2 separate regions of the Homo sapiens genome follow, and region 2 is linked to region 1. The links are contacts of gene promoters, found by promoter capture Hi-C in blood cells and fetal thymus (Javierre and others, 2016). All regions are on one chromosome and are shown on one strand. Each heading gives the region's core, a stretch centred on a gene start or on the middle of the fragment in contact. The rest is flanking DNA. Distances are from core to core; before and after follow the strand shown. Region 1 holds the start of CST9 (cystatin 9). Region 2 holds the start of LOC105372571 (a long non-coding RNA gene).

Region 1 (6,823 bases), core at 928-3,427:
GGACAAAAGAAGATTAAAGTGGATGCACCGTCTTCCTGCCCCTAAGTAGCTACTAGTGAAGATGCCATTTGAGTAGGAGAGGCCCCAACACTTTACTGCATTTGAGAGCTTGCCCATGGGCCTGGCATCAGCTCACTGGAGGTGAAACCCAGGGGATCTTCTCTAGACTGAGGAGTTAAGAGCAAAAAGCAGGTGGGCATGGTGGGTCTGGGGAGGATGCAGGCTGAGTCAGACCCCACTAACACATTATCCACCTCCACCCACCCCCATTTCCCACGGTGAGACTCCAGCTTCACTCTCAGTAGGCATCTGATCTTGCAGCTGCATTCCCAGAGGACAGAGCCACATGTCCGGGAGGGTGTTGGATCTCCAAGAGTTTTCAGGGTAACTTCAGCCCTGGGACAGAGGGAGCCTCATCTACAGTGTGTTGTCAAACCTTCCAAGTGACCTCCAGCAAGAAGAATGACACACAGCGCTCCCACTACACACAGGCACACACCCTGGGAAAATGGGTTCAAGAAATACCATCTGCCCTATTGCAAAGTGCATGCTGAAGTTCTCCTTGCCCTCCTTCCCACTCCATTCTATTTAATTCCACTCCATAGCCTCCCTCTCACCCATCTATTCTTCCCAGCCCCCAAACTGATGCTGGGATTGCCATATCCAGGAAGCCATGTGGAAAGCTTTTAGGACTTACTGTCATTTAGGACTTATAGACCATAGTAAGGAGCTTAGATTTTATTCTAACGGTATTAAGAATGGAGGCTTACACTGAGGTCTTGGAGAATCAAGCAAAGCACTGGGAAAGCAGAAGCATGAGGCCTGGCCAATCTCAATCTCTGAGACTTCCAAGGTTCCAGCATGAATATTAGCAGCCACCATTACTGGACCAGATGCCCCTCTGAGGGTTGCATCAGGCTTTTAATTCTCCTGAGAGGAGGCAGCAAATGAGCAAGGAGGAAAATTCCTCTGTACCAGCATTGGAATCCTGAGGATGGCAGTGAGGAATCCACCCCAGGAGGCAGAGAACCAGCCAGAGCCTTGCACAGAGTCTTTCCAGAGCTTAAGCTCTGTGCGGTACTAGAGTCCCTCTGCCTTTCTTTCAGGCTCTTGGTGCTGAGAAAGGAAGAGCAATGCTCCTTCTCTCTCTAAACCAGAAGTTCTCCACTAGGAGGGCATTTTAATTGTTCATGCCTGAAGCCCAGATGAACTGTGCATTCCTGACCACATTTAATGATTTCATCAAAAAGGCAAGCATTTTAGGATAAAGGTCCATTGAGGAAGAGTGTAAATTGGCCTTCAGTTCATTAAGTGCAGACAGAGCAAGGAGCCCAGAGAAGGTGGAGATCAGAGAACTAACCTTTCACGGTGGCCTCTCAGGGCTGATGGTGTTCTTTATTGCCCTCGAATTCTCACTGTTCTCTCTCTGTCTGCCTGTCTCTCTCTCTCTCTGTCTCTCTCTCTCTGTCTGTCTGTCTCTCTCTGTCTCTCTCTCTCTCTCCCTCTGTGTGTCCTTGCTTTTCCATTTTCATTTTATGACCTGGAAATGTTTATCAGTCTCTTTGGTTATTTTCTCTTCTTGTCAGCTTCATCTCCTTAGAAGTCCTTATTTTGAAGTCACTCTTCAGTTATACAATGTCTTAAAAATCATGAAGATTGAAAAATATATTTTGCATGTGAATAGACATTTACCTAATTTAAAAAAAATTTTAAGTTCAATGTTTTCCAAAACTAAAACTACCGTAATTGGTTGTGGACTACCTGACTATGGACTGCTGATGGTGAACCAAGTCTCCTAGACTAGACATCTTGGTCCCTCACTTAGGGGCAGATGGAGAAGGACAGGCCAGAAGAGGATGTGGTCACCAACCTTTCTGTCCATGCTATCCTCCCTCCATGAACTCAGGACGCGCAACAGCCTGTAGGCATGCTCCTCCTTGCTCTGCACGTTGAAAGTGTTCAAGGCAAACTCCACTGTGGCGAGGAACATAGGATCCTGGACTATTTTATTATTACCACCCATTTCCTCTTCAGAACACCAGGCATAAGTCACCAGGAGCTGGAAGCCCATGAGAAGCAGTGACAGTGCCCAGGGCATAGCCTTCCTCCTCTGCGGACTCGACATGATGCAGGCTCCAGCAGCCCTTGCCTTTGCCCTTCAGATCCCTGGCGTCCACTGGAGCCTTCCAGGGCTCAGGTCTGGCCTTTAAATTCACCTGCTGGGGCAGAAACTCCTCCCTCCAGGCCTCACCTCTGCAGTTACACCCTGTCTCTCCCACACATGGCCTCCCTTCTTCCAAAGGCGTTTAAATCATCTCCTGTTTAGGGGAGAGGAACAGCACCCAGGCAGGTGGGTTGGAAAAGACTAGCAATGGGAGAGATAGTGCCCTGAACATGAGGCCCAGCCCCAGCTGCCCCAGCACCTCCGCAGGCTAAAGGAGACCTCTACTGGGCGCCCCAGAGTCAGAGCCCGGCACAGGAACACAAGTGTGAGAGGTATGAGTGGAAGGTGAGCCCTGGACTCAGCAGTGGGGGTGGGCTGGGAGGGGGAGGTTAGGTGGAAAGGCAGAGACAAAAGGATGGAAAGGGATGACAGTGGATGCTAGTATCATGGGTGAGCAGGTACAGCGCCCCGAGAAAGCACTGGGCCTCTTGAGAGAGAGGCGGGGAGCCCGGGAGGATTGGCGGGATGTCCTGCAGGTGTCTGCTCCCCCGAGGGTCTCGGGAGGGGGGCACCAGCCTGGGGGTCGTGGGCAGAGGTTGAGGAAATCAAGAGCAGGAGCCCCCAACCCTGTTCTCTGCACCTCCCTAAATGCAGCTTCCCAGCCCAGGGACGCGCTGCCAAGTGCTGGTACTAGGGGCCTGGCTAGTTATGGCTGCCCCTATTCCTCAAAGGTGTTTCCAGGACGGGTGGCCGCTTGCAATTGGAGCAGTGGAGAACCAGAAAGACGAAGATGCCCTCAGGGATGGCTGAAGTGCACCCATTAGGTTGTCACGGGTTCCCTCCTGTGGCCACAGCCGGCACAGCACTCTGCGGCACAGTTTGTGGGTGGAGATTCTGAGTTCTCGACCAAGACCCACATAGCCTCCAACTCCAACCGCAAATGGGGCTCTCAAAAGACTGAATAATGCACTCTTCACAGACCAGACTTAAGCTTTGTCCCTGTGAAATATGCCTTTGATGTTTATCCGTAGCTCCTTGTAAACTTCAGAAGCAACCAGCATCCCCTGATGTCACGTTAAAAAGCAAGTTCCTAGTTTCCCCACCCAAAGATTCTGACCCAGTAGCTGTGAGCAGGGCCAGGGAAACTACATTTCTCACCAGCTTCCAGAGGATGGTTGTGTTCCCGGTCTCAGAACCATACTTTGAGTGGTGCAGGTTCAGAATACTTCCTGGGAAGTGCATACAGACCAAACCACATATGAGAAGTAACTCAGCTTGAGGGGCATGGAGGTCAGGGGATGAGAATGGCTTTTGTGGGGCACACAGGATGGGGGACAGGCTTAGACAGCATGCCTGGTGATAAAGAATAAGAGTTTGTTTCTAGACCCTGTTTGCAAAGAAAAAGCAACTCAATGTGACAATTCCAGGAAAGCAGCCAGATGTGCCAAAAACATCACCCAAGGAGTCTGTATCCTTTCTCTGATGGCGTTGAGTTCACTGGAACTGCAGCTGAAGCGTAACTAATGTGGTTTCTTAGCTGGAGAGTGATGGTGCACGTAGGGGTAGGAAGGGGGTGTCAGTGAGGGCGGAAATGCCTTTGTGGGTTTTGGGATGAGCAGGCCATAAGGTGCTGTGAGAACTAGAATCCTGATGCCTGGAATAGGTTGCGAGTGTCCTGAGAGAGGCCTGCAATGCCCATGGAGGTCACTCTCACCTTGTAAGTTCAGCGGCTGACAAACTTGGGGCATCCTGCCAATTGCCAGTGGCTCCCCCACCATTCTGAGGGCCGATACCCACATGTGCTCCAAGGGAGTGCCCACACTCACTCTTACATGAGCAGTGGTTTAGGGTCCTGGGCACCAGCTCTGTCCTCACTGTGCAGCCAAGGAGGGGACAGGGATCCCCACACCCAGATGTGAGACCACGGGTGTACAGACACCATGGACCCTTACAAGTGTGTCTATTTTCTTGTTGAATCCCCAGTGGCCTGGGATGGCCTCACTTCCCAGGTGGAGAGAGACGGGAATATCAAGACATAGCCAGGTAAAGAGAAATACATGTGGGCTCCAGGCTGAGGAGCCCCGAAGACGTGGGTCAACATGTTGCCGAGGCCAGAGTGAAACCGGACGGCCCGGAGGGGCTGGCTGGCCAGCCCACAGGCACAGCTCACAGCTCTCTGCAGGGCTATCCCCAGGTCTCAGGTCTGGGAGGCTTTCTCTCCTGAGTCCCCTTGCAAGAGTTCTGTCTCACTCAGCTTCTTCCTGGGCACTCGTTGGCCTGTCTGTCTCTGGGGCCACCGGGACTTGTCTGGTGCTCTCTTTGTGTTGCTGGCACTGGCACCGAACACCCATGTGGTCTCATAGGAAGGTCCCAGTAACTCCTCACTGAAATGGACCTGCTTTTCCAGAAACGAGGCCCTGTATTTCTGAACGCATTCCTTTGAATGATTAGAGAATGCTGGCAACGACCAGGACCAAGCCACTGGCCCTTTTCTGTGAAGCTGAACATGAGGCGGTGGACGAGGGGAAGCCCAGTGACTCTTCGGGACACAGGACGCTCTCCCCAGCTCCCGCAGACCCTCCAGCTGAGTGCTCTCCCCGGGGTCGGACTCATGTCCCTCACTGCCCGGCCTACTCAGCCACATGCTCTAAAGGTCCCGTGCGACCTTGCTCACTGCCTGTTTCAAGCTGGGCCAGGCTCAGCGGGGCCTGCCAGTTTCAGGATCGCCTGCTGGGCTTTGGGATCACTTCCTCGGGACCCTCCCCATTCCCCCTGCTTGGCATTTCCCTAGGAGACTCCCCAGACAAGCCAGCATTCCCAGGGGTTTCCGTGTGCTGGAAAACAAGGTGGTGTCCAGGAGATCAAAGGAAGACAGCAGGGGCAGGGAGAAGCCCGGACTCAGAGCAGAGTGAGTGATCCAGTGATTGCTGTCATAGCAATCATCAAAGGGGCAGCTCGGGGCAGGGGGGTGAGCGGGGCTGGGTGGGGGTGCTGCCAGGGAATTCCAGAGCCCCCTCCACTCCTCCCTCCCCTCCTCCAGGTTTTCCACCTGGGGGGTTCTTCTTAGCTCAGTCTTCAGCTGACTTTGAGTTTTTATAATTTAAGGAATTAATCTCATATAGACTTATGGCAAATTTAAACTGAGAAAGAGGAATAATGATTGAATTAAAAAATGACAAAAGGAGAAATAAAAATACAAACATTACCGGTAAATATAGAGGCCTAAATCAGGGGTCATTCGTACCACATGCAAATCGGAAGGCCCATGGGCTGTTTCTTCTCCTTCCTGTGGGTCCAGCAGGTCCCTCACCCTGGCTAAGTCGGGGGTGCTGCCCTGGGCCCAGGAGCTTTGCTCTGAAGAGGAAGTGCTGCCCCAGTCACCCTCAGCAGCCCTCCTGTTTGCTGGCCTTTGCCGAACACACCTGCCTTCGCTCCTCAGTGGGCGTTTCCTCAGCTTCTGCTGTGCTCCCGACGGAAGCCTCTCCCATCCAACGCAGCCCATTGTTTTCTTTCATAAGTACTTTAGTTTTTAAAAAACTGTAAGTTAATTTAAATTTAAAACAGTACAAAAATGTCATAATACCACTTCTTTTTTATTTTTAAAATTTTCTGTAGAGATGGAGTCTCACTATGTTGCCCAAGATGTTCTCGAACTCCTGGCCTCAAGTGATCCTCATGCCTCAGCCTACAATTCCACTTTTACTAAGTGAAATGTAGGTTTCAACATAATAGAAACTCCAAATACCAGTGGCTTAAACAAGCTGGTGTTGCTTTCTCTCTCAGGATGCTGACAATGCTAGAATTCTTTCATAAGCCTCACTCCTGCTGGGCACTGCCTTAGGCGCTCATTGACTCCTTTAAGCCTCACATAGTAACAGTTCAGCCAAAAATGGTATATATCATTACGTTTTACGTTTTTAACATTTTGCATAAATAATGACTGTATGTCTTACCACTTTATGCCTTTACTGAAATCATATTTGTGAGCATCACCTGTGTTGACACTTGTCGCTCTAGCTCCTTCATTACCACTGTTTTGCTTTATTCACTGGGACCTTGACCTGAATGACTGTAGTTAATTAAGTCCTTCCTGATTTAATTGGGAATGGTGAAATAGGGTGGAGCTTATAGGGTCAGGTGCTTGTGATGAAAACTAACAGACAGTGGTTTATTAAAGCATTCTCTACTGACTTGATTTTACACTGGGTTGATTCCACTCATTTCCTCTTAAATTGGGGTTGCAACGGGCACTTTTGTCCTGGTTTTCATGTGCACAAGTATGACAGCTTCTCTAGGGTCAGCACCAGAAAGAAAATTGCAGACATATGAGATCACCTCCTTTCAGTTTTATTAGGGATAGCTGTGCTGATGATTTTCTTTTCTTTATTCTTTTTTGAGACGGAGGTCTCACTATGTTGCTTAGGCTGGTCTTGAACTCCTGGGCTCAAGTGATCCTCTCTCCTTGGCCTCCCAAAGTACGAGGATTACAGGCATGAGCCACCACGTGCAACCTGATTTCTTTCACCATATAGATTTTTCTTAAAAATTGAAGACGGTTTAATGTATCAATGTTTTGTTTAGGGTATGTGCTTTTGTAATTTTCATTTCAACAATCCTTTCCTATGCTCTTCTATGTTCTGTTTCACCATGTTCTTTCTT
Region 2 (7,275 bases), core at 415-2,914, 270 kb before region 1:
TACTATATCTTGAGTAAAATGCCACTTTTACAACCCTTGGTCTCTACTTTATATTTTTATTATGAGCTTTTCAGATCCTCCTGATATGGATTTAGCTTACAATGGTCAATGAAAAACAATCCAAACAACCAACACGTATGAATAAAGACAAAACAAAAAAATTTAGAACCCAGAAGTCATTTGGCTTTGACTCTGTCCAATGCCAGCTGAGTCCATTTTTCTTGTCCTATTTTCTCTGCTAAATGAGCCCCCAAAACTCGTTCCAGAGAAGTGAATAAAATGCATGACTCAGGATTCCCATCTCATTTATCTCCTGCCTCATGGAACCAGAAGCCCCTTTTGTCCTCCATCAATCCCTGTTTAAATAATATTCCCACCTGCAATAAACTCTTTCTTCAGTCTCCACCAAAGGGCCAGCCCGTTGCATGCACCAACCTTCACTGAGGGGTTCGGGGTCTGAGAAGTGACTGGCTTTGCCCTTCTATGCATGCTTGCTTTATTACTTAAGGTTATGACTTAATGCTACTTAATGAAAACCCTGGCTGGCGGGTCTGCAGAGCAATGCTTCAGAAAGGGCTCTGGATAGATAATCACCATTTGCCAGAGCCCCTCAGCATTCCCAGTGCCTCCTTTCTTTCTTTTTTTTTTTTTTTTTGAGATAGAGTGTCACTGTCGCCCAGGCTGGAGTGCAGTGGCATGATCATGGTTCACTGCAACCTCCACCTCCCAGATTCCAGCAATTTTCCTGCCTCAGCCTCCCAAGTAGATGGAATTACAGGTGTGCACCACCACGTCTGGCTAATTTTTGTATTTTTAGTAGAGATGGGGTTTCACCACGTTGGCCAAGCTGGTCTCAAACTCCTGACCTCAGGTGATCCACCCACCTTGGCCTCCCAAAGTGCTGGAATTATGGGCATGAGCCACTGTGCCTGGCTGGCCTTCTTTCCCTTCCCTGTTTGCTTTCCCACTCCCTACTGGTGCTCCCGAGCATCACCTGCAAAATGATCAAGGAGTTCATTCTTAGGTCAGGGAATCCATTCTGAGGTCAGGAAGTCCATTCTGAGTTCAGAAAGTTCATTCTGAGGTCAGAGAGTTCATTCCTAGGTCAGGGAGTCCATTCTTAGGTCGGGGAATCCATTCTGAGGTCAGGGAGTTCATTCTGAGTTCAGAGAGTTCATTCTGAGTTCAGAGAGTTCATTCTGAGGTCAGAGAGTCCATTCTGAGGTCAGGGAGTCCATTCTGAGGTCAGGGAGTTCATTCTGAGGTCGGGGAGTTCATTCTGAGGTCAAGGGTCCATTCTGATGGCAGAAAGTTCATTCTTAAGTAAAGAAGTTCATTCTGAGGTCAGGCAGTTCATTCCTAGGTCAGGAAGTTCCTGTTTAGGTTGGGGAGTCTATTATTAGGTCAGGGGATTCATGCTTGGGTCAGGAAGTTTATTCTTAGGTTGAAGAGTCTATTCTTAGGTTAGGGAATCCATTATTGCTTCGGGAGTTCATTCTCAGGTTGGAGGTTCATTCTTAGGTGGGGGATTTATTCTTAGGTCAGGGGGTCCATTCTGAGGTCAGAGAGTCTATTCTGAGGTCAGGGAATCCATTCTGAGGTCAGAAAGTTCATTCTTAGGCCCAGGAATTCATTCTGAGGTCAGAGAGTTTATTCTAATGTTGGGGAGTCCATCCTGAGGTGGGGGGGGGTCCTATTCTTAGGTCAGGGGGTCCATTCTGAGATCAGGAAGCTCTAACCTAAAACAGTCTTTAGCTGGAATCCCAGTGTGGCCACTTAGTAGCTGAGTGGTCTTGAGTAAGTCAGGACCTCCAGGTCCACATGATGATCCCACCAGGTAGGCTCATTCCCTGGGCAAATCTCACTACTCAGCACCTGCTCTGTAGCAGAGATCCTGAGAGTGCCCATGTGTGGTGGGTGCTCAGTGTCCTCTTCAGATTCTGCTCCAAGGCCAGGGTACCCCTTCCACACTGGTGGCTGAGCGCCTTCTGCATCCTCACCAAACCCCCCGCTGGTCTAATGAGCAGCCTATGGAAGGGACACGGGGAACCCTTGCTTCAACTCTGCAGGTTTCCAAAGCTCCAAGCTCCCCAGGGGCCAGTGGAGGCCTCTGTTGCAGCAGCATCAAAGCCCCACTGCTCTCTTACCCTTCCCAGGTGGGACTCCCAAGATCCCCTCCCCAACGAACCCCTACATGCAAATCTCCATCTCAGGGTCTGTTTCTAGGGGACTCAACCTGAGACGTACTTCATAATGTTGCTGCAATCATCTAGGACAGAATAATCATAAATAGCAAAGCTCTGAAAAATGTTAAAACGTAAGTAGTAGCAGTAGTAGCAGCAGCAGCAGCAGCAGCAGCAGCAGCAGTAGTAGTAGCAGCAGTAGTAGTAGTAGTATTTTGTTATTGTCAACATTCTCATCATGAGGGTCTTATGGCCTGGACTCTGGCCTGTGGGTCTCAACCCTCCCATGGCCTCCTGCAACCATCTCTCCCCTACCCCTCCATAGCACATAGCCTTATAGATTAAAATGTTCCTAATGGCCCCCAAACTGGTTGTGGCTCCCCCAGTGCTTGGGGGATTTCAGAGGGGCTGGGTAACAGTTTGGCTTCTGCAGCCATTTCTGAATTTCACTTTTGGTTTGTTCATGCTGTGCTGATGCTTCAAGAGTTGACCACAAAGTAGCCACCAGTCACCAAAGTGGCACAGGCTGGCCTGAGGGTCATGAGCCGACCCACTGGGCCATGAGTAACAGAGGCAAGCTGGCTACTTGGCTTCCCCTCACATTTCAAACCCGTTAAGCCAGGCAGGGGTGTGGGCACGCTGAAAGAACGTTCTTGTTCTCAATCTCTTTTAACTGGTGATGCCAAGAAGAAACTTAAAAAAAAAAAAAAAACTGACCAGGCGCAGTGGCTCAAGCCTGTAATCCCAGCACTTTGGGAGGCTGAGGCGGGTGGATCACTTGAGGTCAGGAGTTCGAGACCAGCCTGGCCAACATGGTGAAACCCCGTCTCTACTAAAAATACAAAAATTACCTGGGCATGGTGGCAGGCGCCTGTACTCCCAGCTACTCAGGAGGCTGAGGCAGGAGAATCACTTGAACCCGGGAGGTGGAGGTTGCAGTGAGCCGAGATCATGCCACTGCACTCCAGCCTGGGCGACAAGAAAAAGACTCTGTCATAAATAAACAAATATATAAATAAATTAATAAAATAAAATAAAATAAAATAAAACTGAGTTGGGCCAATGTGCAGCTTGAGGCAGTATTTCTCTGAGCCCTTTGTTCTCTAAGGATAAATCTTCCGAAGAGCGGCCCTCACATGGGTGGTCCAGATGAGGCAGAAGAATAGGGTCTGGAGGCAGGGAACCTAAGGCCATTTCAAGCTGACTTCCTAGTACTAAATTCAAAGTAAAGCCCTAACTTTCCACACCTTAGTAACAAAAAGATCAGAAATCACTCCCTTTGCAAACCCTCACCTTTTCTGTGCAGCAGATGCGAAACTGAAAATACCTCTGATTGGTTGCTTTGTGCAACCAATCAGATGTTGCATAGGAGCGTAACTTTGTAACTTCACTTCAGCCTCTGATTGGTTGCAGAAAGCAGGCCGCCACTTCATTTACACCGGGTGAACACCAAGTGGCCAATGGGAAACCTCTAAGGGGCATTTGGACTCTGTAGATTCTATATCCTGGACCTTGAGCTGCTGCTCCACCCATTCCCACACTGTGGAGTGTACTTTCATTTTCAATAAATATCTGTTTTTGCTCTTTCATTGCTTCATTCTTTCCTTGCTTTGCTGTGCATTTTATCTAATTCTTTGTTCAAAACACCAAGAACCTGGACAACTTGCAGTCAAGACCAAGACCGTCTACTGATAACACAGGTCAGATACTTCACAGCCTGCTACTGAGGGATGCTGTGGAGCTTCCAGGGCCCAGGATCCTTGTTGGATCCACAACTTTCCAAGTGGCCCTCAGCACTCTGTGACCCCCACGTGGCAGCCTCCTCCCAGGAGAGACTTCTAGCCTGTATTAGCTTCATGCCAGCCTCCCTGTGTGGCTGTTCATACAATATGATGGCTGTGTTCCTTACCCAAAGCCTCTGTTCCCCATGGGCAGGAATGCCCTTGGAAGAGGAGCACCAGCGGGGGACAGGCCAGACACAGGGCAGCAACCTCATTAAATCTCATCCTTAGGGTCTTTGCTTTCTCTCATTTGGCACTTCTACCCAAATCTAGTCCCACTGCTAGATCCTGAGAAGACACCCATTTTTACATGCCACAGAGCACTTTCCAGCACATTATTCTTCCTCTGAGCCCCCTGGGGTAGCTTGGGTTTGGCATGCTGACCCAGCACCCCATCCTTTATCTGGGATCTGAGTTGTCTCCACTAGTCACAGAGGTAGTTGCAAGAATGGGCCTCACCAATTAAATTACTTCATGCACTGTCACAGCTTAGTGCTTGCTGCCAACTCTGGCTGCATAATAAATATGCATTTGAAAAGGGCACAGCAGAGCCTGCTGAAGGCTCATCCATTGCACATCTGACAACTGATGTTTGCTGTCACTGGGGCCTCACTCAGCTCCTCCCCAAATAGGCCTGTCCATGTCCTCTTTCCAGCTGGCCTAGTCCAGGTTTCCTCACAGCATGGTAGCTGCATTCAAGGGTGAGCAGAGAGAGACAGAGGTATGGGGAGTTGGAGGGAGAGAGAGAGAGAGAGGAAAAAAAAGAAGAGGGAGTGAGCACAGGTGAGCTGAGTGGAACCTGCATCACCTTCTATGACCTAGCCTGGGAACTCCTCTCTTCCCAGATTAAACGGGAGGAACATAGACGCCACCTCTCAGTGAGAGCAATGTCAGTCATGTTGTTAGAGCAGGAGGTCTGGGACATCTTTAATTGTTCAGACGCCTTTGGGCAATGCAATCTGCCACCAGTGACATGCACTCAGTACCTACCTGAAGTCAGGTACCATGTGTGCATCAGGTCATAGCAACCCTTTGATCTTGCCAAAGCCTTGAGGCAGATTAACTTGCCCAAGATCATGCAGCTGGTAAGTGGCAGAGCCAGCATTTGAACTGAGGATTCTCAGCTCCAGAGGTTTCTATGGACTTGAGTTTGTTCTCATAAATTTTGAGAGGTAATTGCATTCCTTATATATAAAAAGGAACAAGGCAAAAAGTACAATAGAAGAACAGAATACTAGAAAAAAGGACCAGTCAGGAACATGAGATCATGAAAGTAAGCTTAGAAAATAAAGATATAATTGGCCAGATAAGGCAAATAATAAGTCAATAGAAAGGATACACAATAAAGTTATTTGTTTGTTTTTAATTCCCAGGGCACAGGCAAAAAAAAAAAAAAAAAAAAAAAAAGAAAGCAAGCAAGCAAGAGAGAGGCCAAAATTGCAAAAACAAGAGAAAGAGGAGAGAAAGTAAATGGGGGAAAGCCATAAAAAAAATAGAATAACTTTTCCAGAGGATGAAGGAAACCCATACAGACTGGAAAGGTCCAAGGATCATTAGGGAGTGACTCCAGGGGTAAAGGGCTTTTCAAGCAATGAGGGGTGCTCTGGAAAGGCTGGCCCATGAGATGAAGGGATTAAGGCACATTATTTTGTCAACAGCAAAAGCAACAAAGACAAAAACAATTAGGAATTCCAAGAAAAACAAGATCCTGTTCCATAAAGATATAGCCGAATAGAAAGTAAACTAAAATAAGCATGGTGTAAGGAGGGTTGGAAAAGAGAAGGCTGTACACTGGACTTTGAATCTGGGAAAGTCACCCTTTAGGGGGTACAGACATCGTGGGAGAGAACAGAGCAAGTCCTACATGTGTGTGTTTCTATAGTAATCAACAGTTAGGCCTAATAGTGAAAATGCTTCTTATTTCTTTTCAATGCTTAGACTCAATCTAGACAAAGAATAAACCTAATCATCGCTGTAGAACAGAAGGTAAATGTAGTCATCCTTGATGCTGTAAATGTGAAGACAGTTTTTACCATATTATCTAGAATTAGTTTTGATGGCATCTAACTGATGAGCTCAAAATGATGTAAACAAAATAGACTTGTAGTTCTCACTTGCCTAAAAGAGAACTTATCATAGCTCTATGAAATAAAGGGAGCCAAGTCCTTCCACCCTCCTCTCTACCATCCCTAGGATCTGGCCCACATCTGCATGGTCCAAAATAGCAGCCAAAGTGCCAGCCATCACATCTGCATTTCAAGCAGTTGAATGAAGACATGGGAGATGGCCTAGCCTCCCTAGTTTTAGGAAGTCCCACACAACACTTCAAACTACATCTCATCAACCAGATGAGGTATATGCCACAGCTAGTGGGAGAGAAAGTAGGAAGCATGGTCTTCAGGCTGAGTGGCCACACGCAAGTCAGGGTTCTATTTCCACAGGTGGAGGAGAGCATGGAGGTGACAGCAGCTCAAGGGTTAGTCACAGAGATGGGACTTAGGAAGAGATGGTTGAGAGAACTGTTATCCCCGTCCGAGAGGGCAGAGAGTTAGACAACAGTCTCTATCATTGATGGAATAAGAAGCAGAGAGGAATTACATATTTAAAGCTATAAAGGTCATCACTAGAACTAAATCTAATGAAATTAGCTAAGAGACTATTTTGTAAGATTCCATTGTAATAGTCATTGAAGATTGTCCAAAATTGATAAGTCAAGCAATTGAATTACAAGCTCATTATTTAGAATTACAGAGGTAACTGCCAAAAGAACAAAAACATAGGAACAGTTGCAAGTGTTTACCCCACGAGCCTGAATGCGAGGGAAAGCAAGGGGCAGGACAAGAGGTACCTGCTCTCCTTACAAACCTTCTATGCTCTTGGATCTCTGTACCACGAGTTGGAACTTTGGCTTAAATTTTTAAATTAAATTAATGCAGCCTCTGCTTCCACTCGAGGCTGGGGACAGAAGAGAGAACCACTTGGCCTGTTGCTGACAGCTGCCATCCCCCATCCCCATGAAGACAGGGCCCTCAAGGAATGCAGAGGGCAAGGCTGGGGAGGCTTGGGGCATGGCCAGCTCTCCTGTCAGGGTGCCCCTTTCCAACTCAGCAGGGATGAGAATCCTCATCACCCGGAGTGCCCTCCAGGGGCCCACAGCTGGGAGCAGGAAGGGATACTGGGAATATTCCACCTGGGATGACACTCTGATGTCACGGGAGAAGGGGTAGGGTCGTGGGGAGGGGCAGGATCTTCTCGATGCCCCCACCCCTCGCTGGTCATAGGCACTGGCTGGCAAGAACGGGCTGCCTGGG

The links. Contacts are between HindIII fragments. The CHiCAGO score rates a contact against its expected background, and 5 or more counts as called.
Region 2: a contact is called between a fragment that was not itself captured here and the fragment with the promoter of CST9 in region 1, in 1 of 17 cell types (total CD8 T cells). The highest score is 5.9, in total CD8 T cells.

The regions. Positions count from the first base shown.
Region 1 is chr20:23,603,740-23,610,562 of GRCh38, forward strand. CST9 (cystatin 9) reads right to left here and starts at 2,178. Exons shown (of 2, transcript NM_001008693.3): 1 at 1,871-2,178. The coding sequence starts at 2,125. The HindIII fragment of the contact is 2,472 bases long and covers 682-3,153 here.
Region 2 is chr20:23,332,995-23,340,269 of GRCh38, forward strand. All of the region lies in intron 1 of NXT1-AS1 (NXT1 antisense RNA 1), which reads right to left. LOC105372571 (a long non-coding RNA gene) reads right to left here and starts at 2,873. Exons shown (of 3, transcript XR_937379.3): 1 at 1-2,873. The HindIII fragment of the contact is 7,152 bases long and covers 1-5,240 here.